2 separate regions of the Homo sapiens genome follow, and region 2 is linked to region 1. Evidence: promoter capture Hi-C in human tissues and cell types (Jung and others, 2019). All regions are on one chromosome and are shown on one strand. The core of a region is centred on a gene start or on the middle of the fragment in contact, and the rest is flanking DNA. Distances in the headings are between cores, read along the strand shown.

Region 1 (5,900 bases), core at 1,111-3,610:
CACATGCCTGTAGTCCCAGCTGCTTGGGAGGCTGAGGTGGGAGGATCACTTGAGCCCAGGAGGTTGAGGTTGCAGTGAGCCGTGATAACGCCACTACACTTCAGCCTGGGTGACAGAGTGAGACCCTGTCTAAAACAAACAAACAAAAACAAGCAAACAAATAAAGGAACTCAGGAAGCTTTATTTTTTTATTTTTTGAGATGGAGTCTCCCTTTGTCGCCCAGGCTGGAGTGCAGTGGCCTGATCTTGGCTCACTGCAACCTCTGCCTCCCATGTTCAAGCAATTCTCCTGCCTCAGCCTCCTGAGTAGCTGGGACTACAGGCACACACTGCCATGACCGGCTAGATTTTGTATTTTTAGTAGAGACAGGGTTTCACCATGTTGGCTAGGCTGGTCTCAAGCTCCTGACTTCAGGTGATCTGTCCACCTCGGCCTCCCAAAATGCAGGGATCACAGGTGTGAGCCACTGGGCCTTGCCCCAGGAAGCTTTAAAAATGCTCAAAATTAATTTTAATAATTAAGTAATTTAGTAGCATTTGTGGTTAACTGTTGAAGCTAAGAAATAGCCAGTAGAGGGAGAGCTGAGCACACGTGACATGAATGTAAGCGTAAGGTGTGATTTTGCCTAGAGAGATCAGTATAAGACTCAGCATCCAGGATGGCATTTGTGCTGACTTTCTTTGTTCTGAACTTTAGCCTGGTGTTTCTGTGGTTTTCTTATGGAGGAGGGACGTCATCTTGCCAAAAGTTCAAAGCAGTTTTTAAGACCACAGTCTAAACATTTATCTTCAATTCTTTCCCTGTTCTGACCTCTTTACCTTCTGAATCCCCTCTTCAGACTAAATACATACCTAGAGTACTGAGGGTTGTCTTGGTAATGACTGAGTTGGCCTTTAAAGGTAACATACACCCTTGGCCCAGCACAGTAGCTCATACCTGTAATCCCAGCACTTTGGGAGGCCAAGGTGGGCGGATCATATGAGATCAGGAGTTCGAGACCAGCCTGGCAAACATGGTGAAACCCTGTCTCTACTAAAATTAAAAAAAAAAAAAGTCAGGCATGGTGACGCACCCCTGTAGTCCCAGCTACTCAGGAGGCTGAGGCAGGAAAATCTCTTGAACCCGGAAGACGGAGGTTGCAGTGAGCTGAGACGGCGCCACTGCACTCTAGCCTGGGTGACAGAGCAAGACTGTGTCTCACAAAAAAAAAAAAAAGGTAACACACACCCTGAAGCTGAGGGTTCAAGGGACAACTTTTTCCCTGTATGTGATGTGATGGTTTGGGTTGCCAGACACAGCAAAGTGGAGTGGGTTTTATTTTCTTCTCTCCTGGACAGCACTTTCAAATTTTTGTTTTCTGGGTTTATTAAAAATATGAATTTAAAATTAGATGGGCGTGATGGAGCATGACCATGGTCCCAGCTACCCAGGAGGCTGAGGTGGGAGGATGGCTTGAGCCTGGGAGGTCGAGGCTGCTGTGAGCTATGATCACGCCACTGCACTCCAGGCTGGGTGACAGAGCAAGACCTTGTCTCTAACTAAATAAAGACATAAAAATATACGGATTTAAAATTTAAGTTCCAGAAAGAGGTGTAAAGCGGTATATCACTCATTTCTACACTCAAACAATCCAATGTTGTTTTATTTTTGGCAAATGTTATTTTTGGTGAATTTTAAGACTTTGGGTCAAGAATAACTTTATATTTATTATCTCATATCCTCCATCTCTCCCAGTCATGTCTTATAGTTGGGTGTCGGGGAGCCAGTGCTTTGTCTGTCTTGGAACTGGGGCATTTTTCCTGTCTGCTCCAGTGAACCAGTCATCTGAATATTGTTCACCCTCAGAGAAAAGATGCTGTGGAAGGATGCAGTGATGCACTTGGAAAGGAAAAAAGACATCTGTCTACTTGTAGGAACATGGCAGAGAAGGGTGCAAGATCCCCGTTTCATGTACCATTTAGATTTTTTTTTTTTTCGAGATGTAGTCTTGCTCCATCATCCAGGTTGGAGTGCAGTGGCGCGATCTTGGCTCACTGCAACCTCCACCTCCCAGGCTCAAGTGATTCTCTTGCTTCAGCCTCCTGAGTAGCTGGGACTACAGGGTTCTGCCACCACGCCTGGCTGATTTTTTTTTTTTTTTTGTATTTTTAGTAGAGTCAAGGTTTCACCATGTTGGCCAGGCTGCTGTTGTACTCCTGACCTCAAGTGATCTGCCTGCCTCAGCCTCCCAAAGTGCTGGGATTACAGGAGTGAGCCACCGTGCCTGGTGAATTTAGATTTAAGTGAAAGAAGACAGAATAAATCAGTATCTGTGGGAGGAGACCATGGTAAATAGCTCCCTGATGGCAAGTTGGTTTCACTTCTGCTGTGTAAACGTGGCTTTGTGATTGTGGCCCAAAGGGCTACGTACCCCAGCTGGTTCCAAATACCTGAACCAAGGAGAAGCTGCCACCATCTCCTCTGTGGACTCCTGTAACCAAACCAGAACTTTTTTTTTTTTTTTCTGTTCAGTGACATCTGGTAAGTTGTTTCTTTTATGTAATTTGTACTGTAACTTGTGGTTGATTTTTTAAAAATGGACCTTAATTTTTAGAACAGTTTTGAGTTTACAGGAATATTGAGAAGATAGTTTAGAGCATTCCCATGTAATTCCCACCCAACTTCCCCATTATCTTGTATTAGTGTGGTACATTTGTTACAACTGATGAACCGATACTGATACGTTATTCTTAAACTAAAGTCTGTGCTTGATTCAGATTCTTGGTTTTTATCTAACGTCTGCTTTCTACTGTGGCATCCTATCAGGATAGCACATTATATTTAGTTATGTTCCCTTAGGCTCCTCTTAGCTGTAGCGTTGTTTCTCAGACTTTCCTTGTTTTTGATGAATATGGCAGTTTTGAGGAGTACTGGTTGGGTATTTTGTAGGCTTCTCCTATTGGCATTTGTCTGATGTTTTTCTCATTATTAGACTGGAGTTATGGGTTTTGGGGAAGGAGTCCCAGAGTTAAAGTGCTGTTCTCATCACATCATATCAAGGGATAATATTGTCAACATGATTTAGGACTGTTGGTGTTGACCTTGACCACCTGGTAGAGGCAGCGCTTGTCTGGTTTCTCTGCTATAAGGTGATCCTTTCCCTGCTCCAATCTCCGCCGTGTTCTCTTTGGAAAGAAGCTGCTATGCACAGCACACACTTAAGGAGCAGGGAGTTTTATTCTACCTCCTTGAGGATGGAGTAGCTACGTAAATTATTTGGAATTCTTCTGTATATGGGACATTTGTCTCTTCTCTCTCCTTTGATTTTCTTAAAGCAAGTTATTTCTTGAGGGAAAGTGAATTTTACTTTTCTGTTTGCTTAAGTGAATTTTGGGGGTTTGGTTTGTTTGTTTTTGAGGCTTCGGTCTGTTACCCAGGCTGGAGTGCAGTGGTATGAACATGGCTCACTGTAATCTTCACCTTCTGGGCTCAAGTAATCCTCCTGCCTCAGCCTCCTGAATAACTGGGACTACAGATACATGCTGCCATGCCCAGCTAATTAAAAAAAAAATTGTAGAGATGAGGGTCTCACTTTGTTGCCAAGGCTGGTCTCAAGCTCCTGGGCCCAAGGGATCCCCTCTCCTCTCAGCCTCCCAAAGTGCTGGGATTACAGGCATGAGCCACCATGCTCAGGCTGTTTAAGTGAATTTTAAGGCTATGTAAAAAGGCCAGTGGGCTAGAAATGGGGAGAATCAGGTTTTAGTTTGAATTTTACAGAACAGTGTGATCTTAGGCAAGTCATTAATCATTCCTCCCAAAAGAAAACAGCTATTGCAGAAATTGCTGGCAGGTGTATGAATTCCTGATAAGGAGGGAAGTGTCATCTTATGCCTCATTAGCTTTAACAAGCTTGGGAGAGCAATATGAGAAGATTCAAATTCGTTTCGCTAGAATCTGCTAAAGTACGTTATGAAAATATCTGCTTATTTTGCTTACCTCTTTACCTAGGGAAGAAAGATGGAGAAAAACATGTCATCCTAAAGCCTCCCTTCTACTACGACTGCTTCTGGTGGCCACATTTCTAATTCTGAACACATTAGCCGATGTGTTAATGCTGAAAACATACCTCTTTTCCTTTAGAGATTTGGAGGCCCTTGTTTCACTTTTGCTTCTGAGCTAATGTGTTTAAATTGCTGCCTTGGGACATCCCTAGTTTGGAAGAGCAGTGCAGTGGCCAACGAGGTGGTTAGGAAATGTTGCCAACACCAAAGTTACTTAAACCTAAACCCAAACTCAAAGAGAAAGGAAATAAATTCTAAATTTCATCAACATTCTATCATTTCATTAACAGTCTCCTCCTCTTCCTTCTTTCATTCTTCAGCTCACCTTCTTGTGAGAGCAAGAAAAAACTTGACCAAAGATTGTTTTTTTTTTTTTTGAGATGGAGTCTCACTCTGTTGCCCAGGCTGGAGTGCAGTGGCATGATCTCAGCTCACTGCAACCTCCGCCTCCCGGGTTCAAGCGATTCCTCTGCCTTAGCCTCCTGAGTAGCTGGGACTACAGGCATGTGCCACAACGGCTGGCTAATTTTTTGTATTTTTAGTAGAGACAGAGTTTCACCGAGTTAGCCAGGATGGTCTCAAACTCCTGACCTCATGATCTGCCCGGCTCAGCCTCCCAAAATGTTGGGATTACAGGTGTGATCCACTGCACCCAGCTGATCGAAGATTCTTTAAGGAAGATGGTAGAGCATCCTCAATGTGTTTGATCAATAGGGACAAGAACGGGAGTCAGAATCTCAGCTAAGGTGGCATCTGTTCCCCAAAGACTAACAGACGTGGCCTGGATGACACTAGTACTGATTTCTAGTTTAACTACCTTCATAAAATATTCAAAAAATAACATTTGTACAGATGCATAAGTGCCTGCAGAGCAATTTTGCATTCATTATCACATTTAATTCTCACAACGAACTCTTTTTTATTTTTTATTTTTTTGACGTGGAGTCTCGCTCTGTTGCCCAGGCTGGAGTGCAGTGGTGCGATCTCAACTCACTGCAACCTCTGTTTCCTGGCTTCAAGTGACTCTCCTGCCTCAGTCTCCCAAGCAGCTGGAATTACAGGCATGCTGCACCATGCCCAGGTAATTTTTGTATTTTTAGTAGAGACAGGGTTTCACCATGTTGACCAGGCTGGTCTCGAACTCCTGACCTCAAGTGATCGGCCCACCTTGGCCTCCCAAGGTGCTAGAATTACAGGCATGAGCCACCATGCCTGGCCAATGAATTCTTGATACAGGTATTTTTTTTAAAACCAATTCTATCCTATATGTGGAGAAATAGAGGCTCAGAGAGATCAGGTGATTTGCTCTGTGTTGCATTGAAGATTGGGAGCAGGAGCAAAAATCCAGGCATTCTGACTCCAAATCCCTAATAATTTTTGCTCCACCATTCACATCTGGAATATGGAAGCCCTTTGTTTGCAGATACTGTGACCACATTGTTTCCTGCTGTACCCCCAGTATCTAGAACAGTGCCTGGTGCATCATAGGCACTCACAAATATTTGTTGAATGAATGGATGGATAAATAAAATAGTAAATATAATTTCTGCTATTCTTGATCTTACCATCTAAGATATATATCTATATCTAGATCTAGATAGATCTATCTAGATATAGATACAAAAAATTATATCTATCATCATTCATTCAACAAATTATTTAGTGCTTGCTGTGTACCAAGTACTTCCCATATTTATTAAAAGTAGAGAGTAAACCAATGTTAATGACCAAAATGCCCCTTTGAGAAACTTTGCTAATTTAAGCATTTAAATTTAAGTAAGTAAATAGTGTTGGCAAGGGTTAATGATGCGAGGCAAGGTAGGGTGAAATGAGATTCTGCCTAAGGAGAATAACTAGGG
Region 2 (6,537 bases), core at 3,764-6,263, 250 kb after region 1:
TTTATCCTTTCCCAAAGTTCTGAAACTGGTTTCAGAAATTCTGCTGTTCCTACCGTCAAGTTAAATGGGTCACTTCATAAAATTATTATACTCTTGACAAACACATGTAAAGGGGCTCTTCGGTGTTCTCAGGACAGGTAAATCTGAAGACAATAGTGATTGTAGCTACATTTTAAACAAGATGAACAAGCTTGTCATTAATAGTTAAAGCTGGGCCTTTGAGATGATTTTCTTCCCCTTAGTACAGTTTTTAAAGATGCTATTATTAAGGGCTCTATAAAAAATTTAAGCAAATCTGTCTGCCTCCCAACTTTTTATAGACAAATGAGCTTATAGACATGTAGGAACAGTTTTGCTTTATAATAAATAAATCTAATAGGAAACCTAATTTTTTAAAAAGAAATATAATTTTTAAAATAAAAAAATTCTTAAATATGTTACGAAGAAGTAAACACATTGAGTTGCTTTGTTTATATATGTGGTATGTACATTTTCTTTTCTTCCGTTCTTTTTTTTTTTTGAGATGGAATCTTGCTCTTTTGCCCAGGCTGGAGTGCAGTGGCACGATCTCTGCTCACTGCAACCTCCGCCTCCCAGGTTCAAGCGATTCTTCTGCCTCAGCCTCCTGAGTAGCTGGAATGACAGGTACACGCCACCACACCTGGCTAATTTTTTTGTATTTTTAGTAGAGACGAGGTTTCGCCATGTTGGCCAGGCTGGTCTTGAACTCCTGATGTCAACTGATCCGCCTGCCTTGGCCTCCCAAAGTGCTGAGATTACAGGCGTGAGCCACCATACCCGGCCTCATTTTATTTTCATAGACAATTTTTATAACCATTTATTGAGATAATTAATGTATCATAAAAATCCACCTTTTGAAAGTGTAAAATTCAATAGTTTCTAGTATACTCAGAGATGAATATATTAAACCATTATCTGGTTTTAGAACCTTTTCTTCACCCCAGAAAGAAATCCCATACCCACTGGCAGTCATTCTGCATTCTTTGTCTCCCAGTCCTTAGTAACTATTCAGCTATTTTTGTCTCCATGATTTGCCTATTCTGGACATTTCCTAAAAATGGGATCATTGGACGGGCACGGTGGCTTATGCCTGTAATCCCAGCACTTTGGGAGGCCCAGGCGGGCATTATCACAAGGTCGGGAGTTCGTGACCAGCCTGGCCAATATGGTGAAACACCGTCTCTACCAAAAATATAAAAATTAGCCAGGTGTGGTGGTGGGCGCTGGTAGTCCCAGCTACTCAGGAGGCTAAGGCAGGAGAATTGCTTGAACCTGGGAGGCAGAGGTTGCAGTGAGTCGAGATCATGCCACTGCACTCCAGCCTGGGCGACAGAGTGAGACTCCATCTAAAAAAAAAAAAAAAAAAGGATCATCATATATGTAGCCTTTATGTGTCTGGCTTCTTTCATTTAGTATAATGTTTTCAAGGTTCATTCTTGTATATATCAGCACTTTATTCCTTTTTATGACTGAATAATATTCCATTGTATAGATATGCCACATTTTGTTTATCCATTCATCATCTGATGCAGAGTTCTGTTGTTTCTGCCTTTTGGCTGTTATGAATAATGCTGCTTGAACAGTTTCCTTAAAGGATATAAGAGAGCTGTTAACAACTGCTCCTGGGAAGTATAACAGGGAGACATACTGTTTACTTTTTTGTACTAGGTGATTTTTTTTTTAGCTAAGTGCATATATTACTTTATAATGAAAACAAAAATACCCAATCACTAATATTATGATGGGGGTAAGTAATTGTACTTTTTGGTTTTAGTTTCCTCATTTTAAGTAAAATTGGGCTAAATGTTTGTTGAGGTCCTTTTTAGCTCTCAAATTTTGTTTGTGATAACGTGAACGATAATGTTATAGGCTTTTTTTTTTTTTTGAGACGGAGTTTTGCTCTTGTTGCCCAGGCTGGAGTGCAATGGCACGATCTCGGCTCACCGCAACCTCTGCCTCCCAGGTTCAAGCGATTCTCCTGCCTCAGCCTCCCAAGCAGCTGGGATTACACGCATGCGCCACCACGCCTGGCTGATTTTGTATTTTTAGTAGAGACGGGGTTTCTCCATATTGGTCGGGCTGGTCTCGAACTCCCGACCTCAGGTGATCCACCGACCTCAGGTGATCCACCCACCTCAGCCTCCCAAAGTGCTGGGATTACAGGCATGATCCACTGCGCCTGGCTATTGGCATTTTTCTTCATGAATGAGAGTTGTATTCTTTATATCTGCTGTGTAACTTGCAATTTGTTTTCATCGTAGGACTGAGAGTGGCTTTCACAATGGAAGGGATCAGTAATTTCAAGACACCAAGCAAATTATCAGAAAAAAAGAAATCTGGTAAGATAGCAGATGTAAGATTTTTTTTTTTACTATTGTTGTTTCTCTTAGAAATGTCCTAGTATTATTTAGTTTGATCCTTTATTATCGGTCACTTAGAAACTTTAATGTAACTCCCCTTTATGATGTTAATCTTAACAAATAAGACTTATTTTATAGGCCACGGTTTGATCATCTCTGGACTAATTTTATTGACAATCTAACAGGTTTGGAGGCTCTCCCTGCCCAAGAATCAACTTAGCTTGACCCATTAAGGAACTGCTTTACCTTTCTCCCTCTCATCCATACATTGCTCTTGTGAGGGAAAGATATTTTCCAAGGCAACTCAATGGACAAAGGAAAATCTTTTCAACAAACACCTAGATATCCACGTGCAAAAAATAAGCCTTGACCCTTAACTCCTATTATATAAAAAATAGCTACAATTAAATTTCTAGAAAATAACATGAGAAAATATTCTGTTGTCCATTTCTAGTGACAGATTTTTCATATTGACCTTGTATCCTGCAACCGTCCTAAACTCACTTATTCTATTAGCTTTTTAATAGATTGCTTGGGATGTTGTATATGGTTGGTCATTTGTGGATGAAGAAAGACAGTTTTACTTTGTTCCCCAGTCTGTATGGCTTTGTTTCTTTTACTTTTTTTAATTGCACTGGCTCCAGTATGTTTTTGAATAGAAATGTTAGTGGATATACTTGCCTTGTTCCCAATGTATTATGTTAGATGTAGGTTTTTCACAAATACCCTTTATTAGTTTGAGGAATTTTTCTTCTATTTCTAGTTATTATCGTGAGTGGGTATTGAACTTTGTAGAGAGCTTTTTCTGAATCTATTAAATTTTCTTTTAAAATCTCTCAATGTGGTAAATTATGTTAATTTTCAAGTGTTAAACTGAACTTCCTTGTGTAAAGCCAGTTTGGTCATGATATATTTTATATATTGCTTGATTTGCTGATATTGTCTATATTCATGAGGGATATTGGACTGCAGTTGTCTTTTTGGGATATCTGTCTAGTTTTAATATTAGGTTATTCTGTATTCATAAAGATGAGAAATGTTTCTCTTTTTTTAATAGAAATATCTTTTTCTTTAACTTTGTGTAGAATTGGTATTATTCCTCCTTAAATTGGTGGAATTCACTAGTAAAGCTATCTGGGCCTGGAGTTTTCTTAGTAGGAAGAGTTTAACTGTGATTTCACAGTTAATAGATATAGGGCTATTCAAGTGATCTCTTATTTTCTTTGTGAATTTTGTTAGTGTTTTTTAAGGAATTTGTCCATCACTTCTAAATTTTCAAATGTACTGGTGTGAAGTTATTCTTGATACACCCTTATTAACCTTCTAGTGTCCTTTTTCATATCTGGTACTAGTATTGTATATTTTCTTAATTTTTTTCCTTAATCAGTCTGACTTGAGGTTTATGTATGTTGGTGAATGTTGCATGCACTTGAAAAGGGCATTTTTTTCTACTCTTACTGGGTACGGTGTTCTACAAATGTCAATGTTCTACAAATGTCAATGATATTCTGTATACTTTTTATATTAATTATGAGAGAAGAGAGTTGAAGTTTCCAACTACAATGTGGATTTGTCTGCTTCCCCCCACCCCCAATTTCTATCAGTTGTTGCTTCATGTATTTTGAAGCTTTGTTATTAGGTACATACACATTTAGGATGGTTATTTCTTTTCTTTTTCTTGTTTTTTTGAGTTTCCTTTTGTCACCCGTAATGGAGTACAACAGTGTGATCTCGGCTCACTGCAACCTCTACCTCCTGGGCTCAAGTGATTCTGGTGCCTTGGCCTCTGGAGTAGCTGGGATTACAGGCGTGCACCACCATGGCCGGCTAATTTTTGTATTTTCAGTAGAGACAGGTTTTCGCCATGTTGGGCAGGCTGGTCTCAAACTCCTGGCCTCAAGTGATCCACTCTCCTTGGCCTCCCTTTCAAGTGCATGCAACATTCACCAAGACACATAAACCACAAGTCAGATCCCAAAGTGTTGGGATTACCATGCCTGGCCTAGGATGGTTATTTCTTTTGATGAATTTATACCTTAACTGTTACGAAATACCCTTCTTAATCCTCAGTGGTACTCTTTGTTCTGGAGTCCACTTTATGTGATAGTAATGGAGCCACTCCAGATTTATTTTGATTTGTGTTTTAATGATGTTTTTCAACCCTTTACTCTTGCCCTATTTGCGTCTTTATATTTAAATTGAGTTTATTATAAATGGCATGTCTCGTCTTGTTTTTATCCGTTCTGACAACTTTAATTTCCTTTAACTGGACTGTTTTGCCATTAGCTACATGTGGCTATTTAAATTTGGTTATTTAAATTTGGATTATTAAATGTGGTTATTTAAATTTGGATACAAATTAATTAGAATTAAATAAAATTACAAATTGAGTTCCTCAGTTGTATTAGTCACATTTTAAGTGCTCAGCGCTCAGACAGCACAGATATAGACATTTCCACATGGCAGCATGATGTATTGGACAGCTCTGTTTAGACCATTTATACTCAATGTAATTGTCTATTGTTGGATGTAAATCGGCTGTTTTGCTATTGTCCCATAGCTCATTGATGATTTTTTTCTAACCTTTTTCTCTCTTTGCTTCATTTTTGATAGTTTTTGTTGCTCTGTCTTAAGATTTAGTTATTCTTCTGCTCTAAGATGATGTTATTCTTATCCATTGTATTTTTCATTCCTAAGCTTCTATTTTGTCTTTTTTTTTCCGTTATGCTCAGATTTTCCTTTGTATCATTGAGCACATTTTTAAGATTTGTCTTAAGGTTCTTATCTGCTAATTTTGCCATTCCTGTCATTTTTTTTTTTTTTTTTTTTCTTGAGACAGAATCTTGCTCTGTCACCCAGGCCGGAGTGCAATGGTGCGATCTCAGCTCACTGCAACCTCCACCTCCTGGGTTCAAGCAATTATCCTGCCTCAGCCTCCCGAGTAGTCGGGATTACAGGCACGTGCTACCACGCCCAGCTAATTTTTGTATTTTTAGTAGAGACAGGGTTTCGCCATGTTGGCCAGGCTGGTCTTGAACTCCTGGCCTCAAGTGATCCACCTGCCTCAGCCTCCCAAAGTGCTGGGATTACAGGCGTGAGCCACCACTCTTGGCCTCCTGTCATCTTATGGTATGTTTCTATTGATTGATTGATTTTTTAATTTTTTGAGATGGAGTCTTGTGCCCTGTCGCCCAGGCTGGAGTGCAATGGCGCTATCTCAGCTCACTGTAACCTCCGCCTCCTGGGTTCACGCCATTCTCCTGCCTCAGCCTCCCGAGTAGCTGGGATTACAGGCACGTGCCACCACACCTGGCTAATTTTTTGCCTCTTTAGTAGAGACGGGGTTTCACCATGTTGGCCAGGCTGGTCTCGAACTCCTGACCTAGTGATCTGCCTGCCTCGGCCTCCCAAAGTGCTGGGATTACAGGCGTGAGCCACCGCGCTAGGCCTCTATTGATTTATTTTTCTCCTATATTGGTCATATTTTCTTGCTGCTTTCATGCCTGGTACTTTTTGATTGGGCAGTAGATATTTTGCATTGTCTAGTACTGGATTTTGTTATTCCTTTAAAGAGTGTTTGATTTAGTTATGGTCTGAGGTTAAGTTACCTGCACATTAGCCTGTTCCTTTTGAGACTGGCTTTTAAGCTTTGTTTTGAATGTTTATCTGGGGCTAAACTTTAGCTGTACTATCTAGTTGTGACCCTTTAGAGGACTTTACTATGTGTTACAGGGTTACCATCCTCTAGCTCATGGTGATATGAAGTGTTCCTAGACTTGTATGATCTCTGGTAATTGTTGAGCCAATTGCTTTCCTCTGGTGCTTTCCCAGCTTTGGGGCATCTACACATTGTTATGTGCGGATAAGTACTTGGCCAAACACTCAAAGAGAAACTGTTCAGATCTTTGGAGTGCTCTCTTTGGAGCTCTCTAGTTCTCTGCTCCACAAATTCTAGCCGCCTAGTCCTTCTTGACCTCTGATCTCTGTCTCTTCAATGTGACAGGACTTCTGGATTATGTGACCTCTGTCCTGCAGTCTGGAAACTGCCTTCAAGCAGTAAGTTAGGGCAGTGATAGGGCCCACCTCATTTGTTTCTCTTCTCTCAGGCATCACAACACTGCTCTGCCTGTTGTCAAGTGTCTGAAAACAATTATAT

Evidence for each region. The method cuts DNA at HindIII sites, captures the fragments that hold promoters and counts their contacts. A contact is called where the count stands out against the background at its distance.
Region 2: a contact is called between a fragment that was not itself captured here and the fragment with the promoter of NUGGC in region 1, in 1 of the 25 tissues and cell types used here (adrenal gland).

Annotation. Positions count from the first base shown.
Region 1 is chr8:28,080,396-28,086,295 of GRCh38, reverse strand. It overlaps NUGGC (nuclear GTPase, germinal center associated), which reads left to right and starts at 2,360. Exons shown (of 19, transcript NM_001010906.2): 1 at 2,360-2,521. The HindIII fragment of the contact is 5,516 bases long and covers 334-5,849 here.
Region 2 is chr8:27,828,879-27,835,415 of GRCh38, reverse strand. It overlaps PBK (PDZ binding kinase), which reads left to right. Exons shown (of 8, transcript NM_018492.4): 2 at 2,283-2,360. The coding sequence starts at 2,303. Among named protein-coding and RNA genes, the nearest start is that of PBK, 5.7 kb to the left of the region's middle. The HindIII fragment of the contact is 5,828 bases long and covers 2,100-6,537 here.